3 separate regions of the Homo sapiens genome follow, and regions 2 and 3 are each linked to region 1. The links are contacts of gene promoters, found by promoter capture Hi-C in human tissues and cell types (Jung and others, 2019). All regions are on one chromosome and are shown on one strand. The core of a region is centred on a gene start or on the middle of the fragment in contact, and the rest is flanking DNA. Distances in the headings are between cores, read along the strand shown.

Region 1 (5,014 bases), core at 1,478-3,977:
AGGAATGACTGTAGAGGACCACAGGGCGACTTCTAGGCAGCCCCCAGACAGGCCGGCCCTGGGTAGCAGGAACTCGTTCTGCCCCAGCTGAGGTTCTGGGCCTCATCACTAATGACCCACAGCAGCCAAGGTCAGCCCTCGGGAAGATGGAAAATGAATGAAGGGCAGCTCTGCCCAAAGCGGCGGACCAGGTGGGCAAACAGAGAGCCGGGGTTTTGTAGCAGGGGTGGGGGTGCGGTACAGGAACAGATCTGGAGCTTGTGGCAGGAGTTCAGGTGGAACATCAGGCGGGGTACAGATGCCACAGTGTGGAGGAAGCTCCTCCTCTCATCCCAAGCTAGCCCCTTCCTAACCTCAAGTCAACGAGAAGAGAAGGTGGGCTAGAACCTTTCCACCTTCCTCTTAGCACCCGGCCTGTGCCGGTGCATCTCCTCACCCCACACAGTGCCCTGGGTACAGGGGCTGGGGCTTGAAGGGTGCCCATAACACACTCCCTCAGAGCCTGGACACTCAGCCATCGTTCATTCATTCAACAAACACAGTCTGAGCATCTGCCATGTGCCGGCTTCAAGTGCTGAGGACACAGCAGGGAATGAAACAGATTGAGTCCCTGACCATGTGGGGCTGACCCCTCAGGGAGAGACAGACGACACCATGGACACAGAACAGCAGGAGGTGACAAATGCTCTGAAGAAAAATACACTCAAATGCACAAGTGGAGTGCGGCATGGGCCAGGGGCAACAAGGTGACCTGGGGCAGTGACAGGACAGAGGCAGAGTGAGGTGAGGAAAGTGTCGCCGCTGAGAAGGCTCTGCCAGGGATGGTGCTCGGCAAGGCTGAGGCACACGGGACATGTGGGGTCACACGGGTCACGTGAGGAGGCCACCAGAGGGAGCTGGGGGAATGCTGGGGGTTGAATGTTGTGTCCCCTTAAATTCCTATGCTGAACTCCTCACCCCAAGGCAGTAGCTTTAGGAGGTGGGGCCTTTGGGAGGTGATTAGGTCATGAGGGTGGGATCATGCCCTCCCTTATGGAAGGGACCCCAGAGAGCTCTCTCTGGCTTCCCACCATGTGATGTGAGGACACAGCAAGAAGACAGCCATCTGCATCCCAGAGGGAAGCCCTCACCAGAACCTGACCCTGCTGGCACCCTCTTCTCAGACTTCCCACCTCCAGGGCTGAGAGATGTGTGTCTGTTGTTTACAGCCACCCAGTCTATGGCCTTTTGCTGAAACAGCCCAAACAGATTAAGACAGGAGGAGAAGGAGGAAGAGGAGAAAGAAGAGGAGGAGAAGGTGGAGGAGGAGGAGGAGGAGGAGGAGAAGATGGACTTAGAGACACAAGGAGGCCACAGTGGAGTGTTTGGCTTTCGCTCTGAGTGTGCTGGGAAGCTACTGGAAGGTTTAGGGCACAGGGACACAATCTGACAGATATTTTGGAAGTATCAACGGTCAATGGAAGCAAACGTCAGGGCTGGACAACCAGGTCAGAGGTGACAAAGACTTACGTGATAGCAGTGCTCTCATTTGGGAGACACCTGAAGACAGAGCCAGCCAGGTTTGCTGACGGGTTTGACATAAAGGGTGAAAGAAAGAGAGGAGTCGAGGCTGACTTAAGGCTTGGGGCTGGCCTGAGCACCTAGAGAATGGAGCTGCCCGGTGCTGAGCTGGGGAAGCCCGTGGTCTGGGGAGAGACAAGTGTGAGGTCGAATCAGGCACCCAGTTTTGGGTGACAGAAGCCTCAGATGCCCATCAGATGACACCCACATGCAGCTGCCACCTAGGCAGCTAGGTACACAAGTCCAGGATTCGGGGAGTGAGCCAGGCTGCAGACACTAGGACACTGGAGGTTCTAAGATGCATTTCAACTCTTGTACCTCGGTGAGATCACCAGGAAAGCAGGTGTAGATAAAGCAGAAAAGAGGTCCCTTCTCAAGTTCAAAGGTCATGAACAGTTGGAGGATCTGGCATAGGGGACAGAGGAGAGGAAGAAAGCAGAGGGAATATCGAGCTCTGAAATACACAGCGTCACCCCTTTACTTGGCTTTCGGAGCTTGGTGTTCACAAAAAATTAGAAACGAGGTTGGGGGCGGTGGCTCATGCCTGTAATCCCAGCACATTTTGGGAGGCCAAGGTGGGCAGATCACTTGAGGTCATGAGTTCGAGAGCAGCCTGGCCAACATGGCGAAACCCCATCTCTACTAAAAAATAATACAAAAATTAGCCATGCGTGGTGGTGCATGCCTGTAATCCCAGCTACTTGGGAGGCTGAGGCAGGAGAATCGCCTGAACCCGGGAGGCTGAGGTTGCAGTGAGCCGAGATGGTGCCACTGTACTCCAGCCTGGGTGACAGAGAGAGACTCTGTCTCAAAATAAATAAATACATAAATAAGAAACAAACGTTCATCAACTGGAATACCATTAACTACCTTACGGTGCATCCTAGCTCTAAAACAGGAGGCTAGGCGAGGGTGCCTGGGTCCGGTGCCTGGGTCCAGTTCCTGGGTCCTCCAGTTTCTAGCTGGGTGACCTCAGCCAGGGACTTAAATCTTTCTGCACTTCCATTTCTTTGTCCATAAACGGAGAAAATACTTCTATCTGTGTTGGGTGGTTGTGTTAAATGAGAGGAGTCCTACAAAGTGTGGAGTTTAATGGCCAGCCCAGCACACGGAAAATGCCCATAAATGTTCATTAGCGTCATCGTTGTAATTCACACCATTATAACGTAACCCACATAATTTACTGATTTTTTGCAGATTTAAATATCTGAAACTAAAAGCAGTTATGCTGTTTGCTATTTGTGATTTCAAAAACTCTTCGCTATTTGTGATGTTGCTAAGCCCTTTAGGGAGTGCCTCCTGCTATGAGCTATATTCATTCCAGGGCATATTTGTGGGGTTTGTCATTTTAACCAAGTACTTAATACTTGTTTCTCTCCCAGCATCTTGCCAAATGTGGCAGCTCTCCTTCTAGATGAACACTACTGCATTACTGTTATAGAAATGATATTTTAACATCAACTCCCTTTTCCCTTTTCTTCCCTAGAAATCCAGTCCTTCCATGAGACCTCGGTACACACAGAACTCCTCCTACCACGTGCAACCTTATTCTCGGCTGAGCAACTCATAAATCGCATAACAAAAACAGTGATTGATGCGGACTGTGTTTAGTGCCATCCTTGCCGGTGAGAGGGAGTGAGCCAGCAAGCTTCCTTAAATCTCTTTAGTTCTCCAAAAGGAGAGGCCATTTGCCTTCTCATCTATGCCGCAAGTTTCTGGGGCTTGCATCATTAACCTGGTGGCTTTGCCAATTCCTTCGCCAGTGCTGGGTCAAAGACAGGCAAGGGCACCAGGGTTAGCCATGAGTGTGTGCCAGGGGCTGAATGCAAAACCCGGGAGCACTGGTGGCTGGGGCAGGTGGGCTGGGCTCTGCCACTGCCTCCCCCAGCCCACCCAAGAGGGGCGTGTGCCTCTGCAGGAAATGGCCTCCAAGCATTTCTCAAGACTTACGAGATGTTCAAACCTACACAGTCAGAGACAAAGAGCTAGCTATAAGTGGGGTCTTTTTCCCCTCCTCAAAATTCATCCTGCAGAAGTAGACATGTGCTAAACAGTGCATGGCCACACAAATGCTTGGATACCAATGTTCACAGCAGCGTTGTCCTAATGGCCCCAAAGTAGCAACAGCCCAAATGTTTGTCAACTGATGGATGGATAAACGAAGGCGGCCGGGCGCGGTGGCTCACACCTGTAATCCCAGCACTTTGGGAGGCTGAGGCGGGTGGATCACCTGAGGTCAGGAGTTTGAGACCAGCCTGACCAACATGGAGAAACCCTGTCTCTATTAAAATACAAAATTAGCCGGGCGTGGTGGCACATGCCTGTAATCCCAGCTACTTGGGAGGCTGAGGCAGGAGAATCGCTTGAACCCGGGAGGCGGAGGTTGCAGTGAGCCAAGATCGCGCCATTGCACTCCAGCCTGGGCAACAAGAGCAAAATTCCATCTCAAAAAAAAAAAAAAAAAAAAGGAACGAGGCACTGGCACATGCTGTAAACGGATGGACAGTGGACCCTGAAAACATTATGTTACGTGGAAGAAGCCAGTCACAAAAGGCCACATAGTGTGTGATTCTGTTTATATGAAAGGTTCAAAACAGGCAAATCCACAGAGACAGAAAGTGGATTCACAGTTGCCCGGGGCTGGGAGGAGGAAGGGCAAGTGGCTGTTCATGGCAGGTTCAGGGTTTCTTCTTCTTTTCGGAGTGATGAAAATGTTCTGTGAAGATAGTATACTAAGACCCACTGAACCATACACTTCAAATGGGTGAGCTTTACGGTATGTAAAACAGATCTCAGCACAGCTGTAAAAAAAAAAAAAAAAAAGGTATATTGACGACCTGTCCCCAGTGGCATTAGTTTAAGTCATAAAAATTTAGAAACAAATGTTCATCAACAGGAAAATCATTAAGTACCTTATGGTGCATCCTAGCTCTAAAACTATGCTGCCATTAAAAAGAAGAGGTACCGTCTCCAAGAAAGAAAGCCAACATCTGCAGTGCCTGGCACACAGTAGGCTCTCAAATATTTGCAGAATAAATTTATGTTGAAAAAACCCCAGCTATACATACTATAAAATAGGTAAAGGGGCCTTAAAAAGATCTAGAAGGACACAAGTTATATGACTAACAGTGCTTACCTCATATGAGGTGGGATAGACAGAAAGACGAAAAGAGAAATTTTCATTTCTGAATCTCCTGCTGTAGATGGTGGTCCTTCCCAGGAGAATGTTACTTGTATTACTTGCATATCATTTTATTTTTTGAGATGGAATCTTGCTCTGTCTCCCAGGCTGGGGTGCAGTGCACAATCTCAGCTCACTGCAACCTCCACCTCCCGGGTTCAAACTATTCTAGTGCCTCAGCCTCCCAAGTAGCTGGGATTACAGGCACATGCCACCATGCCCAGCTAATTTTTGTATTTTTAGTAGAGACGGGGTTTCACCATGTTGGCCAGG
Region 2 (5,014 bases), core at 1,681-4,180, 350 kb after region 1:
AGTAAAAAAGCCTTCAGAACACGCAACCACCACCAGGCACCTGAGTCCTCCCGGTTTAGGACAGGACCTGCCTCTAGCAGGGAGGGTGTCGTGGATAACAGTGGAGTTGGTCAGGGTTGATCATCCGCTACTTGGGGTCACACTACGCACCCCAGAGCTGGGCCAACTTCACATCAAGCCTCAGTAACTGCTCCAGGTTGCCTCAGCCTCCCAGAAAGGGAGGAATCATCTTGGGAACTTACAACTTCGACCCAGTCACAATCAATCTGCCCTCCTCTCTGCCACCTGATACCTCAGGATGGCAGACGGAACAAGAAGAATTAACAAGGCCGGGATTGCTGAGGTTTTAAAAGACCAAACAACAGTGACACCCACCCCCTCTGAACCACACTCAAACAAAAGCACCTCTTTAGGCCCCCAGCCCTTCCTCCTAAGCTAAAGGCAGCAGCAGGGAGTTACCTCCATCTTCCAACTGTCTCTTTTGGCCCCCAAAACCAAAATCAGGAGTGCTGTTATTCACTGTCGTGGCAGCATCGCCTCCAATTTTGGCTGCAATCTAGAATAAAGTAGTAAGCACAGAAGAATTACCACCAAAAACAACCCTCCATGGCACCCAGGTCAACTTCTCAGAACATCTCCTGGACACGAAAGCCCATCAGGTCTTGGTGTCTGGCCCTCCAACTTAGGGAAGAGTCAGTTGGTTAAGACATCCTAGGAGTTTTGAACCTAGGCCTCAAGGTTCTCACCAGTTAACTGGGAATATCAAAATTCCCCTCTTCCCTTCTCCTGGGATTTGTGTCTTAATTGTGGCCAGCCCATAATCCACACTGACTTCGTTCTAGGGGTGACAAGGAACAGAGGCTCAGGTGTCAGGGAGGGTTCCCAGGTCATCTCCAAGAGCTTTCAGACACTTCCTCCTGCCAGTGGCCCCAGCTCAGAAAACCAGAAAGTGTGTTTTTTTTTAGCCCCGTTTTCCTGGGATGCTGAAGAGTTCAATTTTCCCCTATCTCCCCCACTCTCAAAATCCTTTTATCAATTTATTGAATAAATTTGAGCAAAGCGATCACTTCAAGGGATATGAAATCCTCATTTGACCAAAACAGAAGACTCTCTGGATGGCTGGGCACTGTGACTTATGCCTGTAATCCCAGCATTTTGGGAGGCCGAGGCGGGCAGATCACTTGAACTCAGGAGTTCGAGACAGACTGGCTGACATGGTCAAACTCCATCTCTACTAAAAATACAAAAATTAGCTGGGTGTGGTGGTGCACACTTATAATCCCAGCTACTCGGGAGGCTGAGGCAGGAGGAGCACTTCAACTGGAGAGGTGGAGGCTGTGGTGTGCTGAGATCGTGCCACTGCACCCCTGCCTGGGTGATATTGAGACTGTTTCCAAAAAACAAACAAACAAACAAAAAACCAAGACTCTATGGGACACAAGTTACATCTCAGACACGTGAAGAGCAACTTTAAAGAAACCTCAACCCAGCAAACTTAGGATCAGAGTCTGGGGTTTAGAAACCCAAACCATGTTAAGAATCTCCCTTTCCACCAGTCTCCATTTTTCTACGCTGCCCTAGAGCCAAAACTCATGGGATGCCCACAGGGGGCCTGTCCCCACCAACTGACAGCACCAGCTTCCTCCCTTCAAGCTGTCCCAGAATCAGACGGTTCCATGGGCAATAAGACCAAATGCACGCTAGAACCCACCCAACTCCAAGGGTGAGAGAGACGACAGAGGGCCAGAACACAGGCGTTCACTTAACGGGACCTCCCACCTTGGGAGGAGCCAGTCTCTAGCCCCGGAGGCATTGGGACAGCCCAGGAGCCGGTCGGCGGCAAAGTCCTCCCATTCTACCGACCCCCACCCCTCCAGGCCATGGGGAGGCTGCAAATGGAGCTGGAGAGGTCAGTCCTAGCAGCATGTGACACTTCCTTGTCATTACGCCTCAATACACGGGGGTGGGAGACCCTCCCTTCTTTCCCCCAAAGAGACAGACCACGCTTTCAAGCCACCAAAGCATCCAAGAGCCAGTCCCCATGCTCGTCTTCCCCATTTCGCCCAAGTGCTCAGCCCTAGACAGGTCCCCATCCACTTTCCCGACTGAAGAGGAAGGACTGTCCCTCCCACCCCCACAATGTCCCTTTCTCCTAGAGAGGGGACAGAAATGGGACTGGGTTGGGGGCAAACACTGCCCTTTGCCCTGATATGGAGGGGAGAGTAAAGGCCCTCCGCCCGGGAAGGTGGACCCCTGCCTCCAGGCATGTCCTAAGGCCGGGGGGCTAAGGGGGGGGTCCCAAAAGTGCGTCTCCGAGCTCCGGGGCGCCTGCACACCCAGGCGCCGCTCCTGGTGACCCCCAGTGCGCCCCTACTCCCTGCAGGGGGGTCACCCGTTGGGATCCCACTCGAGGCGCAGCGGGAGGGCCAGGCCCCCGCCTACCGCCCACGTGACCCCGCGACGGCCCCGGCCCCCCTCCGCGACCCTGCGCGCGCGCGCGCACGTGACCCCCGCCCCCTCCCCCGCCTGCGCGCGCGCGCGAGCGCGCCCCTCAGGCCCTCGGCCTCCTCACCTGGCGGGCCCGCTGCACGGCGTCGGCGAAAGCGTCCTTGCGGATTCCCGGGCCGCCTCCGCCGGGTGGCTGAGAGGGGCCCCCGGCCGACCCCCCGCCCGGGCCGCCGCCGCCGGGACCGCCGCCGCCCCGGTCCCCCGCGCCTGGCGGGCCCGGCGGAGGGCCTCCCCCGGCGCCTCCGGCTCCCCCGCCCCCGCCGGCGGGCGGCGGCGGCCCGGGCGGGGGTCCTCCCGTGCTGTAGTCCGACATGGCGCGGCGGGGCCGGGCCTGGCGCGGAGGCTGAAGCTGAGGAGGCGGCGGCGGCGGCGGCGGCTCAACGCGGGAACAAGGCCTCGCTCCACACGGCCGCGGAGCACTCTGGGAACCCAGCCGCTGGGAGGACGACGAGGGGGGAGAGAGTCGCCCCTCCCGCCGCCGACGTGACGGACGACTCCGGCGGGCCAATGGGAGGCAGCCGCCGCACCCCGGACACCAATCGCGAGCTCTGTAGGAGGTGGCCAATCGGAGTGCAATGAGGGGCAGTGGGCGGGAGGCTCAGAGTGACTGACAGCTCTCAGAGGCAATAGCTGCGAGCTGCCCGTGCTGGGCGGGCAAATGAAGGAGATCTGAGAAGGCAGGAGGCCCAATGAAACGCGAGTGCCAGATTCGCGGGGCGGCTTCAGAATTAGATTGACGGTTCTGAAGAGTCACGTGGACTGTAAGGCCGGGCCTAGTGGAAGACTCCTATGGACCGGCTGGGTGGGCGTTAGGTTTGATAGTCGTGGACACAAGCCAATGAATGCACGTGAGAGGTGGTGCTTGTAAAGATGGGCAGCCAATTAATCCAATTCCTGACGAGTTCTGGGTGATGAGGTTGGCTTTGGACTTTAATTGCTTCCCTTGTTAACCAGAATCCTTTTCTATCCCTGACTTCTAAGCCAATGGCTGAGCGACATGGGTGGGTGTTCGGTGACTGACACTGGTCTGGACAAATGGGAATGAAGGAAATCAAAGCGCCCACTTTTGGTGGGAGCCAGTGGAAGCGCCGCTGCATTGGGGCGGAGTCGGCCACCAGACAGCGAGGGGATTAGCGGGAACTGTAGTGAATGGCAGCCGACGTGGGCGGTGGCAATCGGCTGCCCGAACTCAGGCCTGATGTCTGGGTTAGCTCACCGGCAGCCTGGTTGGGTAGGCCCGGCACGTGGCCCGCTTGAAGCCTTAGAGATCGAGCGCTTCCGGAGGTGGGGAGGCCGGAAAGCAGGAAACTCGGGATCCCCCGGGCCTTCTTCTCTCTCGACCCCCCATCTAGAGCGTCCAGTTCTCTTGCAGGACTCAAGGAACCAGCCCCACTCACGAGTCCAGAACCGTTCCAACAACCGGGATCGAGGGATCACAGCCTCGATCACACCCCTCACTTCACACCCCTCACTCCCTTCGCCTAAGGCCCTGGGATCCAAGCCTCAAGCTCCTATCCTAGGTCCTCACTTCCTCTCCTGGACACAAATTCCCATTCAGGACCCAGAGGCCCAAGGTCCCCAGCTCCCCTACTGGGTCCAGGGATCTCATGCACCCAGTTCCACTCCTAGGCCCAAGTATCCAGACACGTTCAGCAAAAACCATCTCTTTATTCCTTGTTGTGTGACATGTTCACCATTTCGCCCTGGAGCCAGGACGACCCACAAGGGGCCAGACTGGAGTCCACGTTTCTTGTCTCAGGCTGCACCCTGGGGAGGGAGTCCCAGGAGTTTTCTGACCCAGCACTGCCCCCCTCCACCCACCACCAACCCCAGCTTCAGGAATCTTCTGACCCAGAGCCCCACCCCCACCCCCAGCCTGCTTTTGCCACCAAAAACTGCCCCAGGGCCTGAACCTTGAGGCCTCGAGGGCTCTTTGGGGCCAGGGGTCATCAGGTCCTCCTGTCCCATTTCTGCCTAGGCTGTGTCGTCCAGCTCACAGCCTATATGCCCAGGGTTTTCTTCATGGCTTCGTACACCACATAGCTGATGCCACCTGCTGGTAAGACCTTCAGTAGCGTGGGGGTCATGCCTCGGTACAGCCCTAGCCAGCCCTGCTGGGCCAGGATCCGCTGGAGGACTCCGCGCATGGTGGGATTTGAGCCCTCCACGGTATCTGCAGGGACACAGGCAAGATCAGGACTAGGCCAGAGATGACCGGGCCTCCTAGGAGTCTGGAATGTTGCGGACAGGTGCTGAAGCCACGGGTAGGGGCCCCAGGGGTCAGTAGGAAAACAGTTTGAAGAGTCTTAGAGGAAATTGGTCAGTTTGAGGAGGAGTGGGGGAGTTTCTGAGTAGTAGTTATCAGGATTAATTTTAGGAAATTTTCTTGAGGGGTGGGAGTGGGGATAGGGTCTCTCTCTGTTGCGCAGGCTGGAGTGTGGAGGCACGATCATAGCTCACTGCAGCCTCGACCTCCAGAACTCAAGGGATCCTCCAGCCTCAGCCT
Region 3 (5,014 bases), core at 645-3,144, 260 kb after region 1:
CGGGAGGCAGAGGTTGCAGTGAGCCGAGATCGCGCCATTACATTCCAGCCTAGGTGACAAAGCGAGACTCCGTTTCAAAACAAACAAACAAACAAACAAAAGAACTAAGCACTATGCCTGGATCCCATCATTCCCAGGGCTCCAGGCAAACACCTCTGTGTTCCCAGCACCCAGTATGGGCATGGCATAGCTGCACTGATCTTTGGCTTTAAGCTTTGGCTAAATGCCGTGATCATTTGTGCATTCCTATTTTTTTTTTTTTTTTTGAGACGAAGTCTCGCTCTTGTCCCTCAGGCTGGAGTGCAATGGTGCGATCTCGGCTCATTGAAACCTCCGCCTCCTGGGTTCAAGCCATTCTCTTGCCTCAGCCTCCCAAGCAGCTGGGATTACAGGTGCCTGCCACCAAACCTGGCTAATTTTTGTATTTTTAGTAGAGATGGGGTTTCACCATGTTGGCCAGGCTGGTCTCGAACTCCTGACCTCAGGTGATCCACTCACCTTGGCCTCGCAAAGTGCTGTGATTACAGGCGTGAGCCTCCGCGCCCGGCCTTTTTTTTTTTTTTTTTTTTTTGAGACAGGGTCTCCCTCTGTCACCCAGGCTGGAGTGCAGTGGTATGACCTCAGCTCACTGCATCCTCCACTTCTTGGGTTCAAGAAATCCTCCCCCCTCAGCCTCCCAAGTAGCTGGAACTACAAGCACACACCACCACACCCAGCTAATTTTTAAAAACTTTTTGTAGAGACAGGGTCTTGCTATGTTGCCCAGGCTGGTCTGGAACTCCTGGGCTCAAGCGATCTTCCTGCCTCTGCGTTCCAAATTGCTGGGGTTACAGGCATGAGCCATGGTGCTAGGTACATCCATGATTTTTTAGCACTTCCCATGTGGTGTTTTAACAGGGAAAGAGAAGACCACCTCAGAATGTCCAGAACTGAGGAGTTTCTCAGGAGGTGGGACTTTTTTTCTTCTTTTTTTGAGACAGTCTCGCTTTTTCACCCAGGCTGGAGTGCAGTGGCACAATCTCAGCTCACTGCAACCTCCGCCTCCTGGGTTCAAGCGATTCTCATGCCGTAGCCTCCTGAGTAGCTTGGACTACAGATGCCTGACACCGTACCCAGCTAATTTTTTATTTTAGTAGAGATGGGCTTTCACCACGTTGCCCAGGGCGATCTCCAACTCCTGAGCTCAGGCAATCCACCCACCTTGGCCTTCCAAAGTGCTAGGATTACAGACGTGAGCCACCGCGCCCAGCCAAGAGGTGAAACTTTTTAAATACTGAAACCAGGATAGTCCCAGGCACACTGGGACAAGTTGGTCAGTGGGTACAGCTGCAAACAAGACAGACACAATCACCTCTTCCAGGAAGCCTTTCCTGATTGGCCCACCCCCTCTAGCTCAGGGGCACCCTCTGCCTCCCCCTACCACAGCTGCCTCTGTGCCCTCCAAGAAGGCACCATCGCTCCCGGTTGCAAATGCCTGCAGTCACATCAGAGTTAGCTTAGGGAAGGCAGAGACCGGTTCTTTTCCTGGCCACCAATGTGTCTCCAAAACCTACCACAGAGCTTGGCATCAAGTAAAGACAAGTAAATGAATGAAAGCTGGCACTCTTTGGCTAACAGATGAGAAAACTAGGGCTGAGACAGGTGAACCACTCCAGCAAGATTCCCCAGTAAGGCTGTATGGGGAGGAACCGGGATTCGAACCGGCATCTGGCGAGACTCCTTCACACACCCACGCACTCACCGTGTTGTAGAACTCGGCCACCAGCTCCGAGTACTGGAAGTTGCTCTCACACCAGTCCACCTCGGAGCTCTGATAGGCGAAGATGCTAGGCATCTTGTCTCAGTGGCCACCACCAGCCGGCTGCGCCCGGCAGAGAGAAGGCGAGCTTGGGAAGGCTGGGCCCTGATGAGGCGGGGAGAGGACAGCCCGGTGCCCCGCGGCAGGCAGACTGGGAGGAAAAACCTGCTGGGCCGCTCCCCAGTTGCACCAGGGCAGCCTGGCTGTGCAGTGACAGCAGCCCTGAGCATAAGCCGTGGGACTGGCACTGTCCAGGCAGGGCAGGGGGCAGAAGTAGGCAGGGAAGAGGCCTCCCATCCAGATTACCCAGGAATAGGAATCGGGGTGGGGGCAGTGGAGGGAACTGTTTTTATCTTTTATGTATGTATGTATTTATTTATTAGAGTCAGGGCCTTGCTCTGTTGCTCAGGCTGGGGTACAGTGGCATCATCATAGCTCACCGCAGCCTCAAACTCCCAGGCTCAAGCAATACTCCTGCCTCAGCCTCTGAAGTAGCCAGGACCACAGGCACATGCTGCCACCATGCCTAGCTAATTGTTTTTTTTTTTGGAGACAGAGTCGCTCTGTTGCCCAGGCTGGAGTGCAGTGGCATGATCTCAGCTCACTGCAAGCTCTGCCTCCCGTGTTCACGCCATTCTCCCGCCTCAGCCTCCCGAGTAGCTGGGACTACAGGCGCCCACCGCCACGACCGGCTAATTTTTTGTATTTTTAATAGAGATGGAGTTTCACTGTGTTAGCCAGGATGGTCTCGATCTCCTGACCTCGTGATCCACCTGCCTTGGCCTCCCAAAGTGCTGGGATTATAGGTGTGCGTGAGCCACCGTGCCCGGCCTTTTTTTTTAAAATTGAGATGCAGTCTGGCTCTGTCACCCAGGCTGGAGTGTAGTGGCGCAATGTCAGCTCACTGCAACCTCCACCTCCTGGGTTCAAGCGATTCTCCTACCTCAGCCTCCCAAGTAGCTGGGATGACTGGCACCTGCCACCATGCCCAGCTAATTTTTTTTGTATTTTAGTAGAGATAGGATTTCACCATGTTGGTCAAGCTGGTCTCGAACTCCTGACCTCAGGTGATCTGCCCACCTTGGCCTCCCAAGGTGCCGGGATTATACGCATGAGCCACCTCACCTGGCCTGAGTTCCTCTACTTTAAGCTGTGTGACCTTGGGCAAGTGAATTTACCTCTCTGATCCTCTGTTTGCTCACCTGTCATATGGAGACGATGGTGACAGAGCCAACTGTAACAAAGGAAGACAGAGATAAAGCATGTACAAAGGCTTAGCCCACTGCCTATGCTAGAGTAGGCACTTGATGGATGGTAATGGGTTTTCTTTTTTTTTTTGAGATGGAGTCTTGCTCTGTCCCAAAGTGCTGGGATTACAGGGTTTTCTTACTGAAGCTGACCTTGAACTTTAAGTCAACTTTGTGGGAATAATAATAATTATTATTATTATAATAAAAGAGCCTGGCCTTAGCAAGCGGTTAGCAAGTGTGCATAACAATAATAATATAATTATTTATTATATAATAGCAATATTATATTAAAATATAAAATTATTATATTAAAAATACTATTGTTATATAATATTTTAAATATTTTAGTATATTATTTTAATGTGATTAATATAATTTAATATAATAATTAATATTATATATTATATAATTTTTCTTTTTTTAAGTGCTTGATTTTCAGTATTATCTCATTTAACGTTCTTTTTTTTTTTTTTTTTTGAGATGGAGCCTCACTCTGTCTCCCAGGCTGGAGTGCAGTGGCATGATCTTGGCTCACTGCAACCTCCACCTCCCTAGTTCAAGCAATTCTCCTGCCTCAGCCTCCTGAGTAACTGGGACTACAGGCACCTGCCACCATGCCCAGCTAATTTTTGTATTTTTAGTAGAGACGGGGTTTCACCATATTGACCAGGCTGGCCTCAAACTCCTGACCTTGTGATCTGCCCGTCTCGACTTCCCAAAGTGCTGGGATTACAGGCGTGAGCCACTGTGCCCGGCCTTCATTTAATGTTCTTAACAATCCTACCCCGGGTGCTGTGGCTCACGCCTGTAATCCTAGTGCTTTGGGAGACCAAGGCGGGAGGATCACAAGGTCAGGAGATTGAGACCATCCTGGCTAACACAGTGAAACCCCATTTCTACTAAAAATACAAAAAAGGTAGCTGGGCGTGATGGTGGGTGCCCATAGTCCCAGCTACTCAGGAGGCTGAGGCAGGAGAATGGCATGAACCCAGGAGACGGAGCTTGCAGCGAGCCAAAATTGCACCACTGCACTCCAGCCTGGGTGACAGAGAAAGACTCTGTCTAAAAAAAAAAGAAAAAATCCTAAGCGCCAGGAACTATTGTTATCCCTTTTCTTTTTCTTTTTTTTCTTTTTCTTTTCTTTTTTTTTTTGAAATAGAGTTTCACTCTTGTCACCCAGGCTGGAGTGCAATGGCATGATCTCAGCTCACTGCAACCTCTGCCTCCCAGGTTCCAGCGATTCCCCTGCCTCAGCCTCCCAAGTAGCTGGATTTACAGGCACCCGCCAGCATGCCCGGCTAATTTTTGTATTTTTAGTAGAGACGGGGTTTCACCATGTTGGCCAGGCTAGTCTCGAACTCGTGACTTCTGGTGATCCACCTGTCTCGGCTTCCCAAAGTGCTGGGATTACAGGCTTGAGCCACTGTGCCTGGCCTCTTTTTCTCTTTTGAGACAGGGTCTTGCTCTGTTGCCCAAGCTGGAGTGCAGTGGCGCAATCATAGTTCAATGCAGCCTTGCTTGATCTCCTGAGCTCATGCGATCCTATCTCCTGCTAGTAATCACTAGCAAGGAAACTAAAGCCCAGAGAAGTTAAGGAACTTACCATAGGTCACACAGTTAGGAAGTGATAGAGACAGGCAAGGAACACCACCTCTATGATGCCTCAGTTTCCTCACCTGTAAGGTGGTGAAAATGATAATGGTACTGCCCTCTCAAGCCTGTTGTGAAGAGTTAGTGAGCTGACACGATGTTTCCATAAAAAGATAAATTGTGGGCTGGGCACGGTGGCTCATGCCTGTAATCCCAGCACTTTAGGAAGCCAAGGCAGGCGGATCACGAGGTCAGGAGATCAAGACCATCCTGGTTAACATGGTGAAACCCCGTCTCTACTAAAAATATAAAAACCTAGCCAGGCATGGTGGCGGGCGCCTGTAGTCCCAGCTACTTGGGAGGCTGAGGCAGGAAA

The links. Contacts are between HindIII fragments. The study calls those that stand out against the background at their distance.
Region 2: the fragment with the promoter of KHSRP here is called in contact with a fragment that was not itself captured in region 1 in 5 of the 25 tissues and cell types used here (dorsolateral prefrontal cortex, heart left ventricle, lymphoblastoid cells and 2 more).
Region 3: a contact is called between the fragment with the promoter of ACER1 here and a fragment that was not itself captured in region 1, in 4 of the 25 tissues and cell types used here (H1 embryonic stem cells, lymphoblastoid cells, mesendoderm cells and 1 more).

The regions. Positions count from the first base shown.
Region 1 is chr19:6,073,974-6,078,987 of GRCh38, forward strand. The region is part of intron 1 of RFX2 (regulatory factor X2); the gene reads right to left. RFX2-AS1 (RFX2 antisense RNA 1) reads left to right here. Exons shown (of 2, transcript NR_199041.1): 2 at 3,047-3,151. Among named protein-coding and RNA genes, the nearest start is that of RFX2-AS1, 14 kb to the left of the region's middle. RefSeq lists enhancers at 394-1,187, 407-576. The HindIII fragment of the contact is 7,886 bases long and covers 1-5,014 here.
Region 2 is chr19:6,421,881-6,426,894 of GRCh38, forward strand. KHSRP (KH-type splicing regulatory protein) reads right to left here and starts at 2,931. Exons shown (of 19, transcript NM_001366299.1): 1 at 2,573-2,931; 2 at 460-556. The coding sequence starts at 2,821. SLC25A41 (solute carrier family 25 member 41) reads right to left here. Exons shown (of 7, transcript NM_173637.4): 7 at 4,157-4,681. The coding sequence ends at 4,509. RefSeq lists an enhancer at 3,239-3,358. The HindIII fragment of the contact is 26,210 bases long and covers 1-5,014 here.
Region 3 is chr19:6,331,718-6,336,731 of GRCh38, forward strand. ACER1 (alkaline ceramidase 1) reads right to left here and starts at 1,895. Exons shown (of 6, transcript NM_133492.3): 1 at 1,742-1,895. The coding sequence starts at 1,834. The HindIII fragment of the contact is 13,348 bases long and covers 1-5,014 here.